Regions from separate parts of the Homo sapiens genome. Here regions 1 and 3 are each linked to region 2. The links are contacts of gene promoters, found by promoter capture Hi-C in blood cells and fetal thymus (Javierre and others, 2016). All regions are on one chromosome and are shown on one strand. The core of a region is centred on a gene start or on the middle of the fragment in contact, and the rest is flanking DNA. Distances in the headings are between cores, read along the strand shown.

Region 1 (4,075 bases), core at 1,393-3,892, 570 kb before region 2:
AAGGGGGGTGTAGAAAATTTCCTCTGAACAATCAGAGGATTGTACATAGACACAATTTGGTCATGTATTGAAGTGAACCTTAGCTGGGGAAAAATTAAAACCTAACAAGAAACAAAAGAGGAACCTACTGTAGAAAACAATGAGTTTGTTCAAATGCATTCTTAACATTTCTGTGAGTACTAATCAACCATGAGAAACTTGTATAGCATAAAAGTGTCCACTAGGAGGCACTGCAGTCAAAGCACACAGAAATAGACCCAAAACCCTTAATTTATGTAAACTCACGTGTTTTTATTAATATTGTCAATAGTGAACTGTTTTTGCAAAATGAGAGGTCACTATTTTTCAGACCTGATTAGGAAAAATTGCACAAGGCACTTCTTGCTGAAGAAAAAAAATCCATTTTCTGGCAGCAGGAGTTAGCTGACTCGTGGCAATCCAGAGTTGGCCTCTTACTAAGGTCAATATGCATGTGCTCAGGAAACTTGAACCCACACAAGAATGTGAACCAAGACGGTCAGGCCAGAGATAACATGCGGGTCTTGTAAATGTCAAACTTTGCTTCCTCTGCTCAGCTGAAAACATCCTCTTCTCTTTCCCTTATCCTCCTCCCACCCTACCACTCCTGATGATATCCATAAACAAAAAAATTTTAATGACTCGTAGAAGCTTTAAAATAGGAGGACATTTAATTTCATAACGCATCTGCGGTCACAAGCTGACTGCAGCTGAGTGAAGATACAACCTTTAGCAGTGCTCCCTGACTACAGGTCAAGTGGATGCTCTCCTTGTGACTGTAGCAGATGGAGGAGGAAAGGTAAAGGTGAATGCAAGAGGCTAGAAACATACATTGTGATCCCTTTTTTAAAGCCTTTGATTTTTTAAGATTAAACTAACCCATTTTTTTAAGTATATGATTTGTTCATTAAACTACAAATACATGTCTTGGATTGCAAGCTGAAGAGCAACTGAGAGCTAGGAGAGGCATGATAAGACCCAGGAAAGAAACTACAGCAAGGCGCCCTCATGTCGCTTAGAATACAATGCAGGTCCCTGTAGCTCCTGCTCCCTGAGCCTCCTGGCACGCCTGTTAAACAACCACTGCCTTATTCACGCAGAGAACTTGCCATGCTGGGGTCGCCCAGGGAAAGTGAAGTTTTGGTCAGTGTTTTGGGTTGAATTGTATGTCTTCTCCGAAAAAATATGTTGAAGTCCTAACCCCTCTTTACATGCCAATGTGACATTATTGGAAGGAGGGTCTTTGCAGTTGTCCTCAAGTTAAACTTCGGCCACTAGGTGGCGCTCATCCAATGTGACTGCTGTCTTTATAAGGAGAGGAGATTTGAACACTGAGATGCAGAGACAGAACGCGGTGGGACGACAGAGGGAGAGAGGGGGGTGATGCGTCCACTAGCCAAGGAACACCAAGGACTGTTAGCAGCTGGGAGAGATGGAAGGAGCTCCGGAAGAAACCAGGCCTGCCCACACCTTGATTTCAGACTCCTGTTCTCCAGAATTGGAGAAAATAGATCTCTTGTTTTAGGTCACCCAGTTTGTAGTCCTTCATTATGGCAGCCCTAGGAAACTCATGACCAAATCTGGAAAAAGTAGGCCGGGCACGGAGGTTCACGCCTGTAATCCCAGCACTTTGGAAGGCCAAGGTGGGTGGATCACCTGAGGTCAGGAGTTCGAGACCAGCCTGGGCAACATGGCAAAACCCCGTCTCTACTAAAAATACAGAAATTAGCTGGGTGTGGTGGCGGGCGCCTGTAATCCCAGCTACTCAGAGCCTGAGACAGGAGAATCACTTGAACCCAGGAGACGGAGGTGGCAGTGAGCCAAGATCGTGCCACTGCACTCCAGCCTGCACAACAGAGCAAAACTCCATCTCAAAAAAAAAAAAAAAATGGAAAAAGTAGAATGGAATTCTGGGAATGATAATCAAGAGAGGTTCAACTGCTGAAGCACGAAGTTTTAAGGCTTTTTTTTTCTGTGTCTTCTCCTTTTCTTCCCTATTTTCCGGTCTACTCAACCCCGATATTCCAATTTCTCAATATGAAATATTATTTTTAGTTATCTTTAAACGCACAGCTGTTGGTGATTTCTGGAGACATGCCCATTTTTTCCAGTCCATTTTGTAGATCTCCTCAAATACCTAAAAACTTCACAGTCCAGTTGGCATTTTTAAAGCACTTTGCTCCTTTGAGTTGCTCAAATTATTTGACATAAATGTTCCCTTATTCATGTCAGTTTAAAGGAAAAGATAAGTACAGATCTTATTTTAAACCTCAGGAAATATACAGCAAAGTTAAGCATCTTATAGTAAATCACGTTGCCTTTCAGCGAGTGAGCAGAGCCTGGTGGACGGACTCCCAACTGCCTGTATAGTCTTTTTAAAGTATTATACAATTATATTTTATTCTTTATTACCCACCTACAAGACAAGAATGAATAAATCCTCCAAAATGGTGGTCACTCAAGAGTTGCCTTTTGGGGACCTTTCTCTTTTTTTTGATAGAAATGCCTCTGATATTTTGAGAATTCATAAAATCTCAAACAAAATGGAGCGAGTACCTTGTCATGTTCTAATTCTCCAGTAACCACAAGAATCTTCCTTCCTCTCCATTCCATTCTGAGAAAGAGCCACTTCACCTCTCAGAATGATGGGAAAGATAAGGCACAAGCCAAGCCAAATCTTCTCCCCCAAATTCCCTGGCTCTACACGTCCCTGGGACAGGAAGGTCTCAGCTCGCTGACTTGGGCATCCTCTGTGTGCCACAGGTGGGGGATCACCATAGAGAGCCCTCGGTCGGACTCCCTCTGCCCCTGGCATTCTGCCTCCCAAAGTTAAGTGTCATCTTAAAGATGGAGCCACACCAGGGAAAATTCCCTTATCCTTGCTGTGTTTCAGCAGAAGTGAAACAGACTGGAATTTCCAAAGCTACTAAAGAAAGGAGAAAGGGAAATCAAAGAACATCAAGAAAATTTAACAAGCCTAAAACTCAGAAGCACAGAAACATGGCTGAGCGTGTCCACCGCTCACAGGCCCTGTGCCACCCCTCCTCCAAGCTCACGGGCTTGGTTCACATGATCAAGACCACCCTGTGGCTTCCTTGCTTCCCAGCTACAGAGTCATGGCCACTGAAAAGTGCCACCTCACCTCCCTGCCAAGTCTGTGTCCTAGACAACTAACTCCCTGGATCAGGGGCATTACTGAACTAAGACCAAATCTCCAGATGAGAGAGAGATTATCAGATTCTTCACATGCGATCCAGCTTGTGGGAATGCGGGTGGGGTATAGGAAGTGGTTCAGCCCCATATGGATCCTTATAATGGAAGAATTATGAAAAATATAACCACAGAATAAACATGACAGTCACACAAGATGAGTCAGGTACACACCACAAACTGTGTAGGTCTCAGTGAAAGTAGACTATCTGGCTGAGGTTGGAGGGTCCTAGGCTAGTGCTACGGGGAGACAAGGACATGGTAGACAGGAAGGAGGTGACCCAGGCAGGGAGAAGGAGCAGATAGATTAGGAGGTTGTTGCCAGAAAGTGGGGCAGGCCTGTGGTAGAAATGCATGCCCCAGAGTTAAGGAAGCTGGGAACTGTCAGGAGCAGGTTGTGTGGTGCCAAAGAACACTGACATTTTTCAAATGGTGGGGGATTTGAAAAGGCAAGTGAGCAGCCCAAATGTGATCATAGTTAACGTCGACTGAGTTACACCAGAAATGTGCTAGACACTTCATATGGATCTTCTCATGTAATCCTCACAACAACCCCATGCTATAGAAGTACTGCCGTCCACATTTTATAGAAGAGTTAACAAGCCTTCAAAAAAGTAACTTGACCAAAGTCTCACAGACTAGTGAGTACAAAACCGAAATTAGAACCCACATCATTGGATATTGAAGCCGGAGCACTTAACGCTATATATGCGCACACACACGAGCACACGTGCACGCACACGTGCACACACACACATACACACACACACATCTTAAATATCAAGGACTCTACAGAGCAGGGGTATTTTCCAAAAGGAGGAAGAGTCATAGATTGCAAGTGATCATG
Region 2 (4,082 bases), core at 939-3,438:
ACCTGGTTCTTCCTCTCTCCTGCCCCATGTTCTCCACACTGGCTGCAGCACACATCTGTCTAGTGACAGATTTTAGAATAGCAAACCCTGGGCTGTATCAAGCGCCAAACAAAGGCCAAATGACACAATAAAAGCATCATTTATCTTTCAAAAACTTCTCCGCTACTGCCAAGAGGGAGGACCCACACCTGGGAAAAGATTGTCTCTCTTATATGGAAGAAACCTGAATTGTTTCCACGTTGCTTTTTCCTTGACACCCAGGCCACTTTCCATCGGGTTGTCAGGATACTCCTAAGAAGGGGAGTCGGAAATGCCAGATGTTCTGTATCACCTTTAGTTAAAAACCAAGCCTCCTGTTACTAGAGACCATTCAATGTCCACTATTCCCTTTGGTGAGTTACTTAAGGAACTGTGCGTCTCCACCTGCAACCCCATGCCTCCTCTCCTGTTGAATTCCCAACAGCAGTTATTGCCCCTGTCCCCAATCCCCACACTAATGGGGGCCCTACAATTTAGGGCAGAGGCCATTTATTACAAAACGCTCTTGAAACCTGATCCCTCCACTCCTCCCCTAATTTTGGATGCACAGTTTAAGTAAGGAATCTCTTAGCACTTAGCGAAGGCTTCTTCGCTGTGGCAGATATCACAATTGTAACTGGGCCCTCATCAGACTGGGAGCTTCCTGTGGGTGGAAGCTGCATCCACAGAGCTTAGCAATGCTTTGTGTACTCGGTAGGTGCTCAGTAAGCCTTTGCCTGGGCTCTGGGAATATAACTCCTTTGAAGTACAACATACAAGCAGTAAAGTGCAGACACCTGCAGTGAATGTACAGATCAATGGATTCCACGTGTGTATACACAGAGGTTTACAATGGCCACCCAGAGGAGCGTTACAGAACATTCCCCTAGAGACTCCCTTGACGCAGGGAATTTAATTGCCCTCCCTTCCATCCTGTGCAGGCAGGCTGGTTGCCAGTAAAGGGATATGAGATGCCCTGATGCATCCGCAGACAGAACCCTTAGTATGGGGGGGAAGGACCTGTCATTCTAGAGTAAAAGTAAGACCAGGAAGATTAAAGAAGACAAAAATTTAAAAATGCAAATGGTGAAAAGCATAAACAACTATTTTCCTCTCTCCCCACACTCACCCAGAAGCACCGGGGCCAAAGAGAGGGCATGGGAGGTCTCAGGATCCCCTGCCGCCCCACCACTGCCCTGATGCCCGCTTGTGACGCAGAGACCGGAGTGGCTCTGAAATTACTGTCTTCAAAGCAGGCCAAACCTTGCTTGACACGTGCAAAGTTCCAATCTCTTGCTTCTCAGCTCCCCGCACGCGCGGGCCAACGTGCACTTCTGAGCCAGATCACCTAGCCACAAGGAGGGGGAGAGAGGGGGAGATAGGAGGAGAGAGGGGAAGATAGGGGGAGAGACGGGGGAGAGAGAGGGAGAGGCAGAGAGAGAGAGAGAGACAGAGAAGAGAAAGGAAGCACCTGAGACAGAGAGAAAGAAGAGAGAGAAAGGAAGCAGCTTCCCCCAACGCTGCGGCCTTGTGTTTCCTCCCGTGTCAAACGAGAGGGCCCCAAATTGACCCCAAATGTTTTTTCTTCCTTTCTCAATCCAACATTTATACCAGCACGTTATTTCCAGGATGCCCAGGACCTCTGCTATGGTTGTGCTGCTGTCCCTGCAAAGGCGCTGGGGATGGCCGAGGTGGGGGATGTCTCTGGGGGCTGAAATACGCTGCCAGGGGAAGGGGCGCCCCGATACCACCCTCAGTGGCTGCTGGTTGGGCGACCGGTGGCCCTGGCTTGAGAAAGTGAAAATGTCCAATCTATTTTGCCTGGAGCCTTGGGTCTCTTTTGGATACGGAACCGAGCAGCAGTCCTCCACTTCGCCCTCTCCCGCCGCTGCAAGGGAAAAGGTCGTTTTCCTCGAGTCCCGGAGAGGCCCTCCAGGAACCCAGAGCCCCCCGGGGACACCGCCCAGCTCCCGGCGCCCGGCCCCGCCCCTGCGCGAACTCGGCCGCACCCACTTTCCCGGGCGGCTCCCCCTCCGTGGCCTGTGGCGTCACAAGGCCCCCAGCCGCCTGTGCCCCGCGGTGCGCGCCCCGCTCCGGGACCTGCCGCCACCGCCGCCCCGCCCTCGGCGGCACCCACACCCAGGCGCGCCCGCGCGCGCGCCCGGCCCCGTCCCTGTCTGGAAGCACAGCTGAAGATGGCGAGCCCGGCGCCTCCGGAGCACGCCGAGGAGGGATGCCCGGCTCCTGCCGCCGAGGAGCAGGCGCCGCCGTCGCCGCCACCGCCCCAGGCATCCCCCGCAGAGCGGCAGCAGCAGGAGGAGGAAGCGCAGGAAGCTGGGGCGGCGGAGGGCGCGGGGTTGCAGGTGGAGGAGGCCGCGGGCCGGGCGGCGGCCGCGGTAACCTGGCTGCTCGGGGAGCCGGTGCTGTGGCTGGGCTGCCGCGCCGACGAGCTGCTGAGCTGGAAGAGGCCGCTGCGGAGCCTGCTCGGCTTCGTCGCTGCCAACCTGCTGTTCTGGTGAGAGCTTGGGCAAGGTGGGGGCGCTGAGGAGGGCAGGTGACCTTGGGGCGCCCGGGGCCCCGGGGACCCAGTGCAGGGGGAGCCCGCGGGACACTGCGGAGGAAGAATTGTCAGCCCTGCCCCACTTTCTCGGCCACCTGTCTCGAACAGGTAGACACTCACCGCAACTTTCCTCCGGACGCACGTCCCTGTGAGCAGTTGTCGTTCTCCGTGTGCGGATCCAGCCTCAGATGCGAGGTGGTCGGCCGACCCTCAGGCACCTGCACCTACAGGTGTTCCCATCGTGCTTGAAAACTTCGCCCCTGCTTTCTAAAACTCTGAGGTCTTGACCTGCTCGCCCAAGCTTGCCGGAGCAAACGTGCTTGAACGTGTCTTGGTTCTTGCAGCCCCAGCAGGCATATCTGGACCAGATTAGGTACCCGTTCAAAACGGTGCCGCATTCATCAGTCACCTGAGATGGGCCCTGAATGATTTGTTTTTTCCTTCCCCTGGAGCGTTAGGTTTACTGTGTTTACTCCCTGATGAGAAAACGGGAGGCAAACAAGCAGGTGGAGTATGCCCAGCACCCACCCCCGGGTGTGCACAGTGTGGAAAACAGGCATATTTTTAGGTGAAGTACAGGGAGAACACACGGGAATGCTCAGCCCCTGAGCAACAGGTTTGTCTCTCCAAAAAGCGCTCTTCAGAAAGGCCAGGGAAATGTCTGTCTCCTTCGTTGAAAGTGGTGTCCTGTCATCCGTTACCACGCTATTGAGGGCGGAGAAAAACCTTCTTTGTTTGCTAAGTGTCCTCATAACAAACATGACCTACACAGTGCAGAATAATCAGACTCCGGTAACAGATACCTTGTTACAGGACAGAGATTTCTGAACCTTAAAGTTGAGAAATAAATAAATTGCACAAAATAGACAGCCTGTCATTTTCTAGGTTAACTTGAGCAAGATGAATATTTTCCTCAGATCTCTGCTAGTCCTGGTGTTTTCTCTTAAAACTAGCTGTATCTTGTCGGAGGTCCCTGAAAGTGAATTAACTTTGGATCTCTTAGGTATCTGTGTTTGGAATAGAGTTTATTCCAAATCTATCTTATTATGGAGTGAATGCGAGCACTCAAATAAGAAGGACATATTGTCTTATGCTAGATTGGGCAATAGTCTAATAGTCTTAGGGCTGTGTCTCACTAATGTTTACGATGTTTTTAACATTTTATTTCTTTTTCTTTTCTTTCTTTCTTTCTTTTTTTTTTTTTTTTGAGATGGAGTCTCACTCTGTCGCCCAGGCTGGAGTGCAGTGGCGCGATCTCGGCTCGCTGCAAGCTCTGCCTCCCGGGTTCACGCCATTCTCCTGCCTCAGCCTCCCGAGTAGCTGGGACTACAGGCGCCCGCCACCACGCCTGGCCAGTTTTTTGTATTTTTTTTAGTAGAGACGGGGTTTCACCGTGTTAGCCAGGATGGTCTCGATCTCCTGACCTCGTGATCCGTCCGCCTCGGCCTCCCAAAGTGCTGGGATTACAAGCGTGAGCTACTGCGCCCGGCCTTAACATTTTATT
Region 3 (4,113 bases), core at 1,491-3,990, 590 kb before region 2:
GCATCTACCACCACACCTGGCTAATTTTTTTATTTTTAGTAGAGATGGGGTTTCACCATGTTGGTCAGGCTGGTCTCGAACTCCTGACCTCAGGTGATCCACCTGCCTCCGCCTCCCAAAGTGCTGGAATTACAGGCGTGAGCCACCATGCCCAGCCTAAATTTCTTAAAGTCAATTTTTTCATGTATATTTTTACTAGAGATAAATAAATTTTCTCGTCAGGCCACATATTATATTGATGCGGTTTGGCTTTGTGTCCCCATCGAAATGTCATCTTGAATTGTAATCCCCAGGTGTTGAGGGAGGGACATGGTGGGAGGTGACTGAATCATGGGGCGGTTTCCCCCATGCTGTTCTTGTGTTAGTGAGTGAGTTCTCATGCGATCTGATGGTTTTATAAGTGTTTGGTAGTTCCTCTCTTGCTCTCTCTCTCTCCACTGCTGCCATGGAAGACGTGCCTGCTTCCCCTTCCATCATGATAATACGTTTCCTGAGGCCTCCCCAGCCATGCAGTACTGTGAGTCAATTAAACCTCTTTTTATAAATTACCCAGTCTCAGGGAAGTTCTTTATAGCAGTGTGAAAATGAACTAATAAATATATCAACCTCCAAAGGGCAGAGACCATCATATAATTCTTCCAAAGTGTTTTTCTAAGAAGGTAAAAATAATGTTGTCCAGACAGGCAACTTTGTGCTGGAGTTGACAGTGAGATTCTCCCTCCATGGGCTGGAGGGTGGAGGGAAGGAGCTGGAAGCTTGTCCTTGGTCCGTGTCAGGATTTCCACTGGGGAAGGAAGGTCTCTTCAAAACATACACATCTCAGTTTCTGATTCTGCCTCCCTTCTTGCGTCTCAAGCAGAGCTTTTCAACCTGGGGACCCCAGTCTCCTGGGGGATTTTGGACAGATATTAGGGAGTTCTTGCCCCCCTCCACCCAGATTTCTTTCACTAAATGCCAGACATTTTGGGTTGAACTTTAAACAAATACTGAAGAACAAAAATTGATTTTTCAAGTATTGTGTTGGCAGAAAAACAATAAGAAATATTTGTATTTTAAGGGCCTCCTCCTCTTCCTCCTCCAGCTTCTGAGTTTAAGACCTTGGTTTATATTTGGCCACCATTTTTCTTTCTTTCTTTCTTTCTTTCTTTTTTTTTTTTTTTTTTTTTTTTTTGAGACAGAGTCTCTCTCTCTCTCTCTCTGTCACCCAGGCTGGAGTGCAGTGGTGCGATCTTGGCTCACTGCAACCTCCACCTCCTGCGTTCAAGCAATTCTTCTGCCTCAGCCTCCCAAGTAGCTGGGACTACAGGCATCACTATGCCTGGCTAATTTTTGTATTTTCAGTAGAGACAGGGTTTCGCCATGTTGGCCAGACTGGTCACAAACCCCTGACCTCAGGTGATCCACCCCCATCAGCCTCCTAAAGTGCTGGAATTACAGGCATGAACCACAGCATTATGGCCACCATTTCTGCCTGGAAGGGCACGGTGGGACTCTAACAATGGACACCCCACGTCTTGTTAGTAGCTATTTCAAATCTTCTGAAGGATGAGAAGACTTAAAATCTATTCTCTTAGCAATTTTCAAGTATGCAATATATTGTTACTAGTTGTAGTCACTATATGAGGCCATGTCTATGTTAAATAGTTTCATGTAGTCATTTCACATTTTCTGTATACATCTATCAAAACATCATGTCGTATACATCATAAATATATATAATTTTACTTTTCAATTTTAAAAATTCATTAATAATAAAATTAAAAATCCTATTAAAAAAACCTGTTCAAGGGCCTGCAAATTGCTGGGGGGAAGCGCAAGAGGCAGGAAGCACAGAGAAAGGAAGAGGCAACCTGGGCCAGGAGGAGGGCAGTTGTTCCCCAGCAACCCCCTGGATCCACACAGAGGCACCCTAAGTGGCTCCTGGGGAACACCGGGAGGAGATCCGAACCGGAAGACCAGGGACCTGACACCTGCACCTGACCTCAGGTGATCCACCCACCTTGGCCTCCCAAAGTGCTGGGATTACAGGTATGAGCCACCACGCCGGACCCTGACTTTTTTTTTTTTTTTTTTTTTTTTTTTTGAGACAGAGTCTCGCTCTGTAGCCCAGGCTGGAGTGCAGTGGCGTGATCTCAGCTCACTGCAACCTCCACCTCCCAGGTTGTAGCAATTCTCTTGCCTCAGCCTCCAGAGCTCCTTCTTGGATGGGGATGCTGAAGACCCCACCTGAGGGTGGGGAAGTGGAATTAGCCTAAAGGACATATGTAACTACTGGTATAAAAAATGCCACCCACTGCATAAACTTGTGTTTGTCACTATATTTTTTTTTCTTTTGGTGGGTTGGCGGGGGACAGAGCCTCACTCTGTTGCCCAGGCTGGAGTGCAGTGGTGCAATCTTGGCTCACTGCAGTCTCCGCCTCCTGGGTTTCAGCGACCCTCCTGCCTCAGCCTCTGGAGCAGCTGGGATTACAGGCGCCCACCACCACGCCCGGCTGATTTTTTTGTATTGTTAGTAGAGACGGGGTTTCGCTGTGTTGGCCAGGCTGGTCTCAAACTCTTGACCTCCGGTGATCCACTCACCTCAGCTTCCCAAAGTGCTGGGATTACAGGTGTGAGCCACCAGGCCCAGCCATGTCATTATATTTCTTAATGTTGTCATTAACTGATAATCTCAAAAGTACTGACTTTTTTTTTTTGGGCAGTCTCTCTCTCTGTTGCCCAGGTTGGAGTGCAGTTGCTCGATCTTGTCTCACTGCAACCTCCACCTCCTAGGTTCAATCGAGTCTCATGCCTCAGTCTCCCAAGTAACTGGAATCATTTTTAGTAGAGACACGGTTTCACCATGTTGGCCAGGCTGGTCTCAAACTCCTGACCTCAGGTGATCCACCCGCCTTGGCCTCCCAAAGTGCTGGGATTACAGGTGTGAGCTGCCACCACGCCCGACCCTAACTTTTTTTTTTTTTTTTTTCAGACGGAGTCTTGCTCTGTCGCCCAGGCTGGAGTGCAGTGATGGATCTCGGCTCACTGCAACTTCTGCCTCCCGGGTTCTAGCAATTCTCCTGCCTCAGCCTCCCGAGTAGCTGGGATTACAGGCGTCTGCCACCACGCCCAGCTAATTTTTTGTATTTTAGTAGAGACGGGGTTTCACTGTGTTGCCCAGGCTGGTCTCAAACTCCTCAGGTGATCCTCCTGCCTTGGGCTCCCAAAGTGCTGGGATTACAGGCATGAGCCACGGCACCTGGCCAACATATTTTTTTAAGAACAGTTGAAAACTAAGTTTAAGCACAGAGTCCATGCCTTCAGAAATACAGAGTCTGATAGAGATGCTGATAATCTAGAGCAGAAGTCAGCAAAATTTTTCATAAAGGGTCAAATAGTGAATATATTTTGCTTTGAAAGCCATGAGATTTCTGTTGACACTACCCACCACTGCCACTGTATCAGGATGCAGCCACAGACAATGTGTCAACAAATGGACATGGCTATGTTCCAATAAAACTTTATTTACATAACACCTAGCAGGTCACTCTTGACACAAGGGAAGCAGTTTGCCCATTCCTGATCTGTATCATTAATAATTTGCTTCTGCTAAAATCACTCCTAAACTATAATAATGTGAGTTTGAAGGTTCCTTTCAAATAACTCAAATTGCTTTAATATGTATTATCTTATCTACCTTAGGAAATTATCTGGGAGCAACAAATAAATGGAGAAAAAAGAGTTCTCTAATTTTTTAACATGTCATATACAGAATTTCATGTGAATATTTCCACATTCTCAAATCATTATTTTTTCTTTTCACTAAGGTTAACTCTGTACATTCTTTCATGTATTTAAATACATTTCATTGTTTTTTTCATCCACTCAAAACATTTATGACATAAGGTGATGACATTTGAATTTAATCCCAATTTCCATTAGGAGAGGCTTATACTCCCTTCTGAGGTTTATTTTATTTTAATCTCATGAATTTCACAATATCCTAGTAATTGAAATATAGCTTGAAATATCTGCCAATGTAATCTGGAATTATCTCCTTGTAGAGAAGCAAAATGGGGGGAAGAAAGCAAGTAATGTCAGTCAACTAAAAGGCATAGAGATAAAAGGAAATGA

The links. Contacts are between HindIII fragments. The CHiCAGO score rates a contact against its expected background, and 5 or more counts as called.
Region 1: a fragment that was not itself captured here is called in contact with the fragment with the promoter of RETREG1 in region 2 in 2 of 17 cell types (monocytes and M1 macrophages); the score reaches 6.1 in monocytes.
Region 3: a fragment that was not itself captured here is called in contact with the fragment with the promoter of RETREG1 in region 2 in 1 of 17 cell types (endothelial precursors); the score reaches 6.5 in endothelial precursors.

Annotation. Positions count from the first base shown.
Region 1 is chr5:17,186,821-17,190,895 of GRCh38, reverse strand. The region is part of intron 1 of BASP1-AS1 (BASP1 antisense RNA 1); the gene reads left to right. Among named protein-coding and RNA genes, the nearest start is that of BASP1-AS1, 29 kb to the left of the region's middle. RefSeq lists a silencer at 322-616. The HindIII fragment of the contact is 3,942 bases long and covers 672-4,075 here.
Region 2 is chr5:16,615,103-16,619,184 of GRCh38, reverse strand. RETREG1 (reticulophagy regulator 1) reads left to right here and starts at 2,188. Exons shown (of 9, transcript NM_001034850.3): 1 at 2,188-2,533. The coding sequence starts at 2,214. It overlaps RETREG1-AS1 (RETREG1 antisense RNA 1), which reads right to left and starts at 3,259. Exons shown (of 4, transcript NR_109946.1): 1 at 2,699-3,259. RefSeq lists a silencer at 1,945-2,434. The HindIII fragment of the contact is 3,701 bases long and covers 1-2,881 here.
Region 3 is chr5:17,205,606-17,209,718 of GRCh38, reverse strand. The region is part of intron 1 of BASP1-AS1 (BASP1 antisense RNA 1); the gene reads left to right. Among named protein-coding and RNA genes, the nearest start is that of BASP1-AS1, 9.8 kb to the left of the region's middle. The HindIII fragment of the contact is 3,966 bases long and covers 758-4,113 here.